Regions from separate parts of the Homo sapiens genome. Here all the other regions are linked to region 5. Evidence: promoter capture Hi-C in 16 types of primary human blood cells and fetal thymus (Javierre and others, 2016). All regions are on one chromosome and are shown on one strand. The core of a region is centred on a gene start or on the middle of the fragment in contact, and the rest is flanking DNA. Distances in the headings are between cores, read along the strand shown.

The links. The method cuts DNA at HindIII sites, captures the fragments that hold promoters and counts their contacts. A CHiCAGO score of 5 or more calls a contact.
Region 1: a fragment that was not itself captured here is called in contact with the fragment with the promoter of SLC25A51 in region 5 in 2 of 17 cell types (endothelial precursors and M1 macrophages); the score reaches 7.9 in endothelial precursors.
Region 2: a contact is called between a fragment that was not itself captured here and the fragment with the promoter of SLC25A51 in region 5, in 1 of 17 cell types (neutrophils). The highest score is 6.2, in neutrophils.
Region 3: a contact is called between a fragment that was not itself captured here and the fragment with the promoter of SLC25A51 in region 5, in 1 of 17 cell types (endothelial precursors). The highest score is 6.0, in endothelial precursors.
Region 4: a contact is called between a fragment that was not itself captured here and the fragment with the promoter of SLC25A51 in region 5, in 15 of 17 cell types (monocytes, fetal thymus, M2 macrophages and 12 more). The highest score is 10.2, in monocytes.

Annotation. Positions count from the first base shown.
Region 1 is chr9:38,123,757-38,126,456 of GRCh38, forward strand. No RefSeq gene overlaps it. Among named protein-coding and RNA genes, the nearest start is that of SHB, 56 kb to the left of the region's middle. The HindIII fragment of the contact is 2,135 bases long and covers 355-2,489 here.
Region 2 is chr9:37,774,434-37,777,133 of GRCh38, forward strand. It overlaps TRMT10B (tRNA methyltransferase 10B), which reads left to right. Exons shown (of 9, transcript NM_144964.4): 8 at 1,849-1,972. Among named protein-coding and RNA genes, the nearest start is that of EXOSC3, 9.3 kb to the right of the region's middle. The HindIII fragment of the contact is 5,813 bases long and covers 1-2,700 here.
Region 3 is chr9:38,144,447-38,147,146 of GRCh38, forward strand. No RefSeq gene overlaps it. Among named protein-coding and RNA genes, the nearest start is that of SHB, 77 kb to the left of the region's middle. The HindIII fragment of the contact is 2,094 bases long and covers 359-2,452 here.
Region 4 is chr9:38,073,024-38,075,723 of GRCh38, forward strand. It overlaps LOC105376039 (a long non-coding RNA gene), which reads right to left and starts at 1,616. Exons shown (of 4, transcript XR_007061483.1): 1 at 1,536-1,616; 2 at 1,287-1,398. The HindIII fragment of the contact is 4,390 bases long and covers 1-2,700 here.
Region 5 is chr9:37,902,721-37,905,420 of GRCh38, forward strand. SLC25A51 (solute carrier family 25 member 51) reads right to left here and starts at 1,407. Exons shown (of 3, transcript NM_033412.4): 1 at 1,348-1,407. It also overlaps the pseudogene PAICSP1. RefSeq lists a silencer at 848-1,607. The HindIII fragment of the contact is 4,581 bases long and covers 50-2,700 here.

The DNA of each region.
Region 1 (2,700 bases), core at 172-2,671, 220 kb after region 5:
GGCTCCAGCAATCCTCCTGCCTCGGCCTCCCAAGTAACTGGGACTATAGGTGTGTGCCACCATGCCTGGCTAATTAAAAAATTTTTTTTGTAAAGACAGGGTTTCACTATGCTGCCCAGGCTGGTCTTGAACTCCTGAGCTCAAGAGATCCTCCTGCCTTGGCCTCCCAAAGTGCTGGGATTGCAGACATGAGCCACTGTACCCAGCCTGCAGTTTTCTAATGACTAATAACATTGAGTAATTTTTATGTGCTTATTGGCAATTTATATATCTTCTTTGGAGAAATGTCTATTTCTTCACATCCTTTGTCCACTTTGTAACTGGGGTATTTGTTTTTTATTGTTTAGTTTTTAAAGCTTCTTAAATATTATGAACCACTGTAGACCTGATTTGCAAAACATTTTTCCCCCATTTCATGGCTTTTTAACTTTCTTGATAGTGTCCTTTGAAGCACAAACATTTTTAAGTTTGCTGAAGTCCAGTTTGTCTGTTTTTCTTTCCAGGGTGTGTTTCCTGATACGTCCTCACAGGATTGATTTTTCTTTCTTTTTTTTCCTTTTTTCTTTTTTTTTTTTTTCGACATGGAGTCTTGCTCTGTCGCCCAGGCTGGAGTGCAGTGGTATGATCTGGGCTCACTGCAACCTTCACCTCCCGGGTTCAAGCAATTCTCGTGCCTCAGCCTCCCAAGTAGCTCCCATTAGGTGTGCATGGCTAATTTTTGTATTTTCAGTAGAGATGGGGTTTCACCATATTGGCCAGGCTGGTCTTGAACTCCTGACCTCAAGTGATCCACCTGCCTTGGCCCCCCAGAGTGCTGAGATTACAGGCGTGAGCCACTGCGCCTGGCCGGAATTGGTTGTTTTAACCTTGCCCCAACCAGACTGTCTTCTGCACTCTAACTGCCCCTTCTAAGTCTTCCAGGCAGCCTGGGCCCCTGAAACACTGGGATTCCTCATTACCCAAGGTTCTTCTGTGTTTCATGGTGATCACTACATCTTCACCACATAAGACACTTTGGATTGACTTCAAGACTCACCTTGACATTGGCTTGAACACTTTCTCCAACTTCGGCTCCTGTAACAAAGACTCTATTGATTCTCCCTCCACCTCTCTCTGCCCCTCTGTGACTCCACTCTGGACTCTTCATCTTGCTCAGGGTTTGCCGTACTCTCACTTTTCTCTCTCTCCTCTCTACTTTCCAGTGTTCACCTGGTTTGACTTCTTCAATGACCTCCTCTCTTTCGCTCCTTAGTGATGGAAGGCAACACAGTGAGACCGACCTGGGTTTGCAGCCTGGCTTGGAAATTTGCAAGCTGGGAACCTTGGACAAATTTATTTATAGCTCTGTTCCTTTGTTTCCTCATCTGTCCAGTAGGGGTAAGAATAATGTCTTCCAAAGGAGCTCTTGGGAGGCTAAAGGAGATATCATAAATACCCTGTGCCCATGATACGTGATAGAGTAAGGGCTCAAAGATATTCACCATCGGTGCCCCACTATCACTTCAAACTCAGCCTGTCCAAGCCAAGCTCATAATTTCACTCCAGGCTAGATCCTTCTGTCTTTTGCCCCCTTCATCCTGCTAGTGCCCTCACTTTGGGGTCACCTCCTACCAGGCCTTGTTCATTTACGATAATATCATCCCACGTGTGTCCCACATCGCCAGAGCTTGTCCATGCCCAGGCTCTTGCTTTCTTTCACCCTGGAGCCCCAGTCACCTGATCCTGCTAACTTTTGTTTCAAAATATCCCCTTCTCCCTCTTTTCTTTCCACCATCAGGGCCCCTGTCCTAGCTGTGTGCTCACTGGACTCTGAGTGGCGGAACAGCCCCTGATACCACCGTGGCCCACCTACCTCTGATCTCTGGCCTTTAGATTTGGCTCTCACAGGAGCTAGGAGTCCAGGCACCTTCCTGTGTTTTCTACAGCTCTGATTCTTTTTCCTGGCAAGTTGGGGCCACACACTAACCTGGCAAAATGTGGGAGAGGGAGCGAACTGTAGAATTTGGAGGTGGGAGCTCCTGATTGTAGACTAGGCTTGCCAGGGGATCCAGCAAGTCCTTTATGGTTTTTGGACCTTGATTTCCCCACCCGCACAGTGGAGATGAAGAATTTCTCAGTCTTGAAGGCCCCTGCCTCCTCTGATGTGTGGCGATTTATCACTTGTGGTCTCTTCCAATTACGAGGCTCATTCATGGGGCTTCTGAGAAGTCCCTTTTCGCTCTCTTCCTACCTTGACAGATTTGTCTTCTAAGGTGAGTTTCTCTTTTGCCGAGTCCTTCTCAGACCTCATTTCCTATCTCTGACTCACTCCGCTTGGCTTCTTCCCCTACCTTATAGCCTAGGGTGTGTGCGTTGATGTACAAATGTGTTCTGATAGTTGGCATAGCTTCTGCCTCTGTGTTCTCTTGGTCTTGCAGACAGTCTCTGCCTCCTGTCTCTCCTATTCCATCTCAGCCCCACACTGACAACAACCCATGGGATCTTTCTAAAGCTTAAATCTGAGCTTGTCACTCCCCTGCTGAAAAAACTTCGGTGGCTCTCTAAAGCCCCAGGATCAAGGTTATCTCCTTACCCTCCTTTTCAAACATCCCACACCCCTCTACAGTCTGGTCTCAACCTAACTGCTGTACTCATCTGCTCCTGAAGAGATGGGCCCCCGATTCCTTTGCTGATTCCATCCCTGTGCATGGAGTGTGCCCT
Region 2 (2,700 bases), core at 134-2,633, 130 kb before region 5:
TTTAGAACTTTTTGGTTGTTATTGGAGTTTGGCTTCTTCACAGAAATAAGCTAAGAACAACATTTCTTCAAGGAGAGTCATTTTATTATGAATCATTGTGCAAAGAACATAAACTAAATTGTAAGCTCTTCTAGGGCAACACCCAAATATCCTAATTTTGAATTCTGTACTTCAAAGTGATTATAAAGGAATAAGACTTTTTATAAAACAAACGTATCATATAGCTCATATATGCAAAGGAGTTTTATCCTTTCAAATAAGTCCCTGTATCGCTTAAAACATTTTTGGAAGTTCTATCTAAAATTTTGTTTCATGTGAGGCAGGTGTCAGCACCGAAAAGGTACTAGGTCCACTTCACACTATTCCACCTGGTTAGACCATACTCATGATGGCCAGTCAGTTATGGGACCGTAAACAAAATGATACTGGACTAGCTTAGAACAAGTTCAACTTGTCCTGAATGATGAAGGGACTTGAAATTCAAAGAAGAGTTGACAGAACTGAGGCTACAATCTGGAGACTAGAGGATTCCTAGGGGCATGATCACTGCCTTCAAGTTTCTGAATGGCCATCTTTTGGAAGGGCCATCTTACTTGCATGGTTTGGCCTTGGGGGAATAGACCTAGGATGAATGAGTGGAAGTCTCAAAGAAAACAGAATTTTGCTCAAGATCAAGAAGAATTTCCTATCAGCTGGTACTATCAAAACTGGAGTGGGTTGTCCCAGGATGCATGAACTCCCTGTCACAAGAGCTGTCCATTGAGTGGCCACATGGCCTCTTGGAGAAGTCATAGAGAACAGACAATGAATGGGTGGTTAGAGTGATACAGTTAACACTATTGAGACCCCTTCCAAGCCTTGGCATGTTAATTATCCCAGTAATCTGAACCTTTCTCTTTAATCCTGAAGTCTTAGGTAGAAAATCTTTCCTGTGCTTCTTACAAGGCAGCAAATGTAATCTGACTGAGTCATGACTCAGTCTGAGGGACTTCATGACTAAGGAACATCTTATAAAGGGACATCAGTTTCTGTACTCTGACACTAAATGGCCTCAAGTTGATGGACTTCTTGTGACTCCTTTTTGCAGTTTTCAGAGCCCGCCCTTTTATATTTTTGAGACAGGGTCTCCTCTGTCACCCAGGCTGGAGTGCAGTGGTGCAGTCACAGCTCATTGCAGCCTTGATATATGTCCCAGGCTCAAGTGATCATCCAACTTCAGCCTCCAGAGTAGCTGGGACTACAGGCACACACCAGCACACCCTGTTAATTTTTTTTTTGTTATTTGTAGAGACAGGATCTCCCTATGTTGCTCAGGCTGGTCTTGAACTCCTGGGCTCAAGCAGTCCTCTGGCCTTGGCCTCAAAGTGTTGTGTGAGGCACTTCACCTGGCCCCTTTCTTTTAATTGGGCTCTCTCTTCTCACACCCTAATGCCACTTGTTGCAGTGGTGCACCTGTCTTGAATCTTGTCTACCTTTTCCTCTAATTTGATGCTGCCTTTTGGCAATGAGCTGGAAGTTCCAGATATCCAGAATTGGGTCTTACTGAGTTAGGGCTCAGAATGTGCTCTGATTGATTAGACTGCTTGGGCCTTTTGATGCCTACTGTGGCTGCAGATGTGCCTCTTTTGCTTATTTCCCTCTTGGTTCTAAGTGGCAGTGAGTGGAGGACTGTGGATGAGTGACCCCCCAAAAAGTAAGATATTGTCACATAAGCTCTTGAGACAGTTAACTCATTATCTGCAGTTTCTTCCATTCCACAATAGGCTACTTATTTTTAATGCTGTATTACATTGAGAATATACTCATGTATAATTTTTATAAGAAAAATATTTAACTATATATTTACAGAAGGTGACATTTCAAAAGGCCCGGGAATACTCTGTCAAGACCGCACGCTTGCCAATCCAGGAATACATGGTCAGAAACCAGAATGGGAAAAACTATCATTCAGAGATACTGGCCATCAATCAAGGTACTTCTTACACGGCCCCCATCCAGGGTGTGTGAGTTCTGGTGCTGCTGCTTTGCACTGTGTTTAAGTGGCCTTTGAGTCAGTCTCCTCTGTGACTAATGTGTGTGGACTTTATTGCATGTACGTCATGACATATATTCTGGCCACTAAGAGGCATTCTGTTTTCTTCGTCACCAACTATGTTAAAGATAGTTGAAATTGTCCCCTTGGCCAGGTGCAGTGGCTCACACCTGTAATCCTGTAATCCACTTTCAGAGGCCGAGGTGGGTGGATCACCTGAGGTTAGGAGTTCGAAACCAGCCTGGCCAACATGGTGAAACCCCATCTCTACTAAAATACAAAAATCAGTCAGGCGTGGTGGTGCACGCCTGTAATACCAATTATTCCAGAGGCTGAGGCATGAGAACCACTTGAACCTGGGAAGTGGAGGTTGCAGTGAGCCGAGATCACACCACTGCACTCCAGCCTGGGTGACAGTGATACTCTGTCTCAAAAACAAAAAAAAAAGCTGGGCACGGTGGCTCACACCTGTAATCCCAGCACTTTGGGAGGCTGAGGTGGGCAGATCACCTGAGGTCGGGAGGTCGAGACCAGCCTGACCAACATGGAGAAACACCGTCTCTACTAAAAATACAAAAATTAGCAGGGCATAGTGGCAGGCGCCTGTAATCCCAGCTAATCTGGAGGCTGAGGCAAGAGAATTGCTTGAATCTGGGAGGTGCAGGTTG
Region 3 (2,700 bases), core at 156-2,655, 240 kb after region 5:
ATATCAGATTATCAAAGTCAATCTTTTACATGAGAAAACTGGGGAGGGAGTGATTGAAAAGACTTAGGCGATACAGAGTGAAGACAGATGGGAGAACTGAATGAGTTAGACTCTAGGTAATGATGTGGGTTGCAGATATGAGGGAGGTGGGAAAGAATTTATGAGTCAGGATGGAAATTCCTGGGTAGCATAGAGAACATGGAGGGCTCAGGGTTCTCCACCTCTCAGCTTCCAAATGGAGCCCTCTGGGTGACCCGGACAGCAGTGGCTGGGTTTCAGAATGCCGACCTGGATGTTATCATTTCTGCCATGTGCTGCAGACTTGAAAACAGATTGGACCGAGGAAGGATTTTGCTTAAGCTTTGGGTGAGCAGTTACTGAGCACCGTCCCCTTCTTTATCCAGACAGCCATTTAGTTTCACCATTGTTAAACAATCTCTGTTATTTAATTTGATATCTAGATTCATTGGTATTATACTTTCTATTTCTTTTATTACTAATTTTCATAGATTTCTTTGATCACTTCATATATATATGTATACACATATGTATATATATACACACGTGTATATATATATACATGTGTAGTATCGATTCCTACTATTTTATTACTGTTCATACCTTCATTTCTGTGTGTGTGTGTGTGTGTGTGTCTGTGTGTGTGTATATTCACCTCTTTTGGGGGGAATTGACTGTTCATATTCATTTTTCTTTCTTTTGGATATTATTTTATTCATTTTCAAGTAATCTTTATATATTAAAGTTATAAGATTGTCATATTTTTCACAACATTATTTTTAATTTATTTGCGTTTAATTTTGTTTGTTTCTTTCACTTTTTTTATTTTTCTTTTGAGATGGAGTCTCACTCTATCACCCAGGCTGGAGTGCAGTGGTGCAATCTCGGCTCACTGCAACCTCTGCCTCCCAGGTTCAAGTGATTCTCCTGCCTCAGCCCCACCACGCCCCACCATGCCTGGCTAATTTTTGTATTTTTAGTAGAGACGGAGTTTCACCACTTTGGCCAGGCTGGTCTCGAACTCCTGATCTCAAGTGATCTGCCTGCCTTGGCTTCCCAAAGTGCTGGGATTACAGGCTTGAGCCAATGCACCTGGCATCACTTTTTGTTACTGAAATGCACAATCGAGCTTGTCTAATCTGTGGCCCACGGGCTGCATGCAGCTCAGGACAGCTTTGAATGTGGCCCAACACAAATTCCTGAACATTCTTAAAATATTATGAGATTTTGTTTGTTTGTTTTTAGCTCATCAGCTTTTGTTAGTGTTAGTGATGGCGGTGGTGGCCTGGCTGCTGCCATGATACTGGCTGCAGTGGGGGCGGGGTAGCCAGGGCTGCCCGCTCCACAGAGCCAGTGAGAGCTGGGAACAGGCAGAAGCCCTGCCCGCTTCCAAGTTGGAGGTGTGAGAGCCCCACCCTACTGGGGCAGCTGGAGCTGCCCAGCCATGGCTGCAGACCCAGGCCTCTCTGCACTCTAGGGGCCCAGGAAGTCCCCTGTCCCTGAAGGCTCTGAAGTTACTGCTCCTGCTGCCTGGCCTCTCCCACTCCCAGCATCCACTCCAATTTTGGAGCAAAGTTGTGGCTGAGCCCAGGTGCTGTCATGACCCAGCTGGGTGTGTGCACACTTAGGGCAGTGCTAACACGCCAGCTCCCTGCTGCTTCAGCCCCCTCCAGACTTTGAATGCAGATGAGCAGGGGAGAGAGGCCAAGGCAGGGATAAGGGTGGCTAGGGCATGTCTGCAGGCACCCCTCAGCATGAACAGCCTGAGCACTGTGGGCACCGTGGATGGCAGGTTAATGGCAGCAGGAGACAGACAGGCTCCTGGGCAGAAAGGGGCGTGTCCCTGATGAAACCCCCGCTTCAGGCCAGGGACAGCCTGGGGTCCAGGCTGCCAGTTCTGCCGACCACAGTGAGAACTTTTGGTGCTTTTTCTGGGTCTGCCCATGGCTGCCCATGGACCAATCAGCACATACTTCCTCCCCTCTGAGGCATGTAAAAACCCCAGACTCAGCCAGACTTGCACAGATGACCTGTCTGCAGAGAGGAGCTACCCACTGTGGGTCTTCTCTCTGCTGAGAGCTGGACACTTGTTGGGATGACCTGCCTGCAGACAGCTACCCACTGCGGGTCTCCTCTGAGCTGTTCTATCACTCAATAAAGCACTTCTTCACCTTGCTACCCTCCACTTGTCTGCATACCTCATTCTTTCTGGATGCAGGACAAGAACTTGGGACCTGCTGAGTGGCAGGGCTGAAAGAACTGTAACACAGACAGGACTGAAACATGTCCTTTGCTTGCCACATTGCGGAAGATGAGAGGGAGAGAAGAGAGAAGGAGAGAAGAGTTTCAGCCCTTTGGGGATCCCAGACCTACGAGCTCCTTGAGCCAGGGCTGTGACACCCTTTTTGGAGTTCTGCAGTTCTTGGAGTCTCCAAGCTTCCAGGCACCACCATGTTCCCCAGTGCCAGCCATAGAAACTGCTTGCAGTACGCCTGGTCCAGCTGTAGCCTCGCAGGGAACCGGCACCCATGCCAGTGCCTGGAGCTGCCTGCCCTGCCGCAGCTGGAGTGCCTGGCTGTGTGCAGCAGCCAGACCTCACGTTCACTCACTCACATACCCCTTATCACTCTGCACCTGAATTGCCCTTGGCAGGCGTGGGATCCAGGCTTTTCGTGCAAGGTG
Region 4 (2,700 bases), core at 67-2,566, 170 kb after region 5:
CCTGGATTCAAGTGATTCCCCTGCCTCAGCCCCCGAGTAGCTGGGATTACAGGCATGCGCCACCATGCTGGGCTAATTTTGTATTTTTAGTAGAGATGGGGTTTCTCCATGTTGGTCAGGCTGGTCATGAACTCCCGGCCTCAGGTGATCCGCCCACCTTGGCCTCCCAAAGTGCTGGGATTACATGCGTGAGCCACCGCACCCGGCCTCATCTACTTCTTTTAGATAACATTATTCAGTTCTGTCCATTGAATGTTAACGTCAGTCCCCTGTCTGTGTACCAGGCCCTGTAGGATGCAGAGATGATCTGGACCACAGTCTCTCACCAATAATTATACAAGGCAAGATGAGAGAAGTGCAGGACAGAACAAGGGACAAAGAGCTATGGGGCTATAGGGAAGGGAGATTTTAATTATGGGGCGGGGCAGATCATAGTGGGTTCTTAGTAGAGGTGATATCTGGTCTGGGCTTTGAAGAGTGAGTAGCATTATGATATAGTAGAAGTAGACGAGAGAATTCCATGCGGAGAGAGAGAGAGCAACATCGTGAAAGGCATAGAAGCAGGAACATGTGGTAAACCACTTGGGCCATAGTGAGTTGTCAAGTGGAGTGGAGTAGCTGAGAATCTCTGAATGCATGGAATGGTGGGTAAGGGTAGAAAGGTAGGCTGTACCACATCAGGAAGAGTTTTCAATATCAAACTCAGGAGAATTTTTTATCTTGTAGGCAATAGGGAGCCATTGAAGGTCTTTGAGCAAGGAAATTAATTACCTTATGTTTTCTACATTTTATAAAGATTATTTGGGAAGCAGTGTGGAAGTTGTATTTCTTGGGGAGAGACAGAAAGTAGGCAGAGCAGTTAAAGGAATGTTAAGGAACCAGAAAATGGTGCAGAGAACAGTAGTTAATGCACAGAAGGCACTCAGTACTTTTGTTGAATGAATAAATAACGTTGAAGTAGTGAAAGGGTGTTAAGTCATTTTAGAGGACAGACTCTGCCTGACTCTCAAGTCTTTGCCTTTGGGCTACTTAGTGAGTGGTGACCAACCACTTCCCAGTGAAAGGTGATACTGCAGGAAGGAGAAGGTGGTTGACTTGGCATTAGCTACCTGTATAAACAGCTGTGAGGGTCAGGGCACAAGTCTGGACTGGAGGTGTAGATTTGGGAGTTATTAGAACTCAGTAAAGATCTAAAGCAAAAACTTCTGTCATCCATGACCCCTTAGTTCATTCCTACTTTACCCAGCCCGTCGGCAAAGTATATGCAGAATCTGGCCACTACTCACCCCCTCCACTGTTACCATCCTGGACCAAGACTCCTTCATCTCTTGCCTGGATTATTGTGGGAGTCTCTTATCCATCTTCCCTGCTTCCATCTCACCCCAGCAGCCAGTGATCCTGTTAAAAATGGGTGTGATTATGTCTTTCCTCTCTTCACATCCCCCCTGGAATCCTGATTTTCCTAACAGGAAATGCCAAAATTCTTACAGTAGCCCGTAAGGCCTTATATGACTTGGTCCCCTTAAACTCCTAACCTCCTGTTATGCTGTCCTCTCTCTCCTGCTGCAGCCAGGCTGCCTCTTTGCTGTTCTTTGAAGCCTCTAGGCACACTTGTGCCTTCCTTCAGGACTTTATTTAAATGTCACATGCTCAGTGAGGCCTCCCCTGGGCACAGTGTCTAGAACTGCGGTCCCTGCTCAACACTTGCCATCCCTCTTCCTCATTTTATTTTCCCGATAACTCTCTTCCTCATTTCACCTACTGTATATTTTACATATATTTCTTGTTTATTCTTTGTCTTGCCCCACAGCGGGAAAGAGATCTTTGCCCTTTTGTTCACTGCATACCTCCAGTGTCCAGAACAGTGCCTGTAGTCATAGTAGGCACATGATAACTATTTATTGAATGCATGAGTGGATGGAAGCAATTGATATCGTGGAGGGTGGAAGAGCAGAAGGTAACAGCTGGACATCTCCGTCCACTTCAGCTTGCTAGCCTTGGCCTGGAGGTAGGAGCATGTCAGACTTACTATGGTTTAAAATATATATATGTAAGATGTATAACATGATGTCTTGATATACATATACATAGTGAAATAATTTTTACGGTCAAATTAAGCAAGTTAACCTATCATCTCACATAGTGACCTTTTTGTGTGTGTGGTAATGAGAGGTGACAGCGTGCTGGCAGTCCTCGCAGCCCTCCCTCGCTCTCGGCGCCTCCTCTGCCTGGGCTCCCACTTTGGCGGCACTTGAGGAGCCCTTCAGCCCGCCGCTGCACTGTGGGAGCCCCTTCCTGGGTTGGCTGAGGCCAGAGCCGGCTCCGGCTCCCTCAGCTTGCGGGGAGGTGTGGAAGGAGAGGCGTGGGCGGGAACCGGGGCTGCGCGTGGCGCTTGCGGGCCAGCGCGAGTTCCGGGTGGGCGTGGGGTCAGCGGGCCCTGCACTCGGAGCAGCCAGCCGGCCCCGCCGACCCGGGCTTAGCACCTGGGCCAGCAGCTGCTGTGCTCGACTTCTCGCCGGGCCTTAGCTGCCTCCCCGCAGGGCAGGGCTCCCGACCTGCAGCCCGCCATGGCTGAGCCTCCCCCTGCGGCCGTAGGCTCCTGCGCCACCCTAGCCTCCCTGAGGAGTGCCGCCCCCTGCTCCACGGCGCCCAGTCCCATCGACCACCCAAGGGCTGAGGAGTGTGGGCACACGGCGTGGG
Region 5 (2,700 bases), core at 157-2,656:
CATAAGGGAGCAGTTAATGAACTTGATTTTCAAGCAACTACAAGTGTCAAGCTTCTGTGACTAAGAAAACAGTGTAAAGTCTAAAACCTTATTATAATTTACAGCCTACATGGATCAGCATGATACAGATATGATCCTAGCACAAAGGTCTCTGCAAAAACTGGGGAGAGGGTGACTCCAATTCTCAAAGGATGTGAATTTCCACTAGTCAGCAGGTCTGAGTCAGCATTCAGAACAAGATCAGCCTGGGTCTAGTCCTAGTTACGACACTAGCTTGCCAATATAAAGACAAAGCAATATCTGATTTTAAAATCCACTGATCTGAGTTTGCTTTCATTTACCAAACGAGAGATCAGATGAGTCAACTCCTAGCTTGTTTTCCCCTGAGATGCGCTAAGGGTGATTCCAGTTCCAAAGCGGTAACCTGTGCTCTAAACCACTATGGGACCTCAAGAGTCCTAGCACCTTTTGATCCTATGGAATCCTTTCAAAGCACGGGCAGAGGCGGCTCAAAATGGCAAGGTCACTATACATTTCAAGGGCTTCTGTTTCAGAGATTACAAGTAGAGAAAAACAGAAGGTGGGAATTAAGATCAGCTAGGTAGAGCTGTGAGATGCAAAACAAAGGTTTTGCAGGAAGTTGAGGTGCTGACATACTCCATCTAGCTAAACTGAACACCAAATAATGGATGGAGACTAACACCACCAACACCATCGTCCCCGAAAATCCTTGTACAAGTGAGCTTCCTACAACGCGATGCAATATGCTGTCGCAGAACAAGCACTGCCAGGCTATGTAGCTGAACTTACCGTTCTCCAGGCGTCCATTTCCCCAACCTGTGAAAGGCGGGGAGGGGGTTGGACAAGATCACTAAGTCCTCTTCCGTTTCTGACACTTCACAGTCAGGGGTCCCGAGGTGAGGCCGAAATCCCAGTCTCCCGGGACGCAGAGGCCCTTGCGCGGTGCCATCCCCGCTGTCCCCCGGGCGCAGGCAGCTCCCGGCTCCTCCCCGCCCCTGCGGTTCCTGTGCACCAGGGAGGTGCCTCCCCAGCCCAGGGCGCGCCCGAATGAAGGGACAGCGCCTTCGCGGGAAAGGTCGCCCAGCAGCCGGACAAACACCCGCGGCAGGCGGGGGAGCCCGGAGCCGAGGAGGCTCAGAACTGATTCCGCCCGCGCCGCCTGGGTGGGGCCCGCAGGGACCGGGCCAGGGCAGCCGGAGCGCGCAGAAGACAGGGATGGGCCCCCAGGGCGGCAGCCTGCCCCAGCGGGCCCTTCAGCGCGTTTCCCCTCCCTCCAACCTCATGCGAAGAAAGCCCGGTGCTTCCCCACGCTCGTCCCACACTCACCCATCAGCGCCGGCGTCCCGCAGGACGGCTAGCGAGCCGGGGCCCGCGCAGGCGCAGACTGTGACCGACCCCGAGGTTGGGGCGCAGCGCGACGCGCTGGGCGCTGTTGGGGTCACGTGAGGGAGACACCGCCCCGCCCCGCCTCCCCTCCCTCGGCCCGCGGCCCGCCAGATGTCGCCAGCCTACTTCTCCTGGCCGCAGGCCGCCGCGGCGGGGCAGGTAGAGGGCCACGCCAGCACACCTGTCAGGATGCGGGCTCCGCTAGCCACCATGCTTCACCCTTGATGCCGTACGGTGGCCTCAGCGTGCCAGAAACAGCCAACGCGTTCTCTAGCGCGCTGCCTGCAGGGGGCGTCTGGGCATTGTCGGTTTTAGGGGCCTTGTCGGTTCTGCGGGGCGAGCGCCTTCGCGGAAAACTCCAAAGTACCCTCTGTGGAGCCTTGTTGAGTATCTTCAAACCTTCAGAGGGACCTTTTATCAGCGACCCATGCCGCAGTTTACAGAAGAACGCTTTGTGCGTGCTTTGGGACGTATGGATCACTTTTAAACTTTTTCCTTTGAAGCTCAGACAGCTTGCGGGGGGCTTGGGAGGAGCGCTGCCCGGGGAGTTAGAAGGCTTGGGTCAAAGTCATAGCCCTCATACTTCTTGAGAGTGACCTTGGGTGAGTCGCTGGACCCTGAGCCCCAAATCTCCGTCTGAAAAGTAACCCATGCCTTGTATGCGTCCTCGGGCTGTTGCAGGAGTCTTTGGAAATGATGGTTCTGACTCTGAGTTGGAAACTGGAACGCACACAACAGATGGGAGGCGTTGAAGGAAACAGAAAGGTCGGCCTGAGGGGAGAGGCGTTTCAGGAGGCTTGCGGATGTGTGAAGTGTGCGCACTGTGCTTGGGGCGAGCCCAAGCAGTAACCCCACCCGAGTGAAGCGTTCTTGGGGGGATCGGCTCCGGGTGGGCGACGTTCCCCGCGTGCCCCCTTCCCCCGAGAGCACTTTGTAGACACTGACTCCAAAAGCGGGTCTGGTCTCTGCCCAGCCCCACTTTGGCTGGCGTGCTTAGGTGCCTCTCGGGAAGCTGGAGACCACCCTCCCCCATTCCAGCAAACGCTCCATTGAGGAACCTACTGCGTGCCAGGTCCTGGGGAGCTTAGCGTCTGATGAAGGATACAACAACAAAAGACTGGAAATTCAGAAGCATGAGGGGACCTCCCCCCTCGAGGGAGAACCAGAGATGGCTTCACAGAGCAGACGTTTGAACTGGGCCTTGGAGGATGGATGAGTGGAATTTGGCCCAGTGGAGAAAGTCATAGCAGCAGGAGATAAGATTGTAAGGGTCAGGTGGTGGGGCTGGATAAT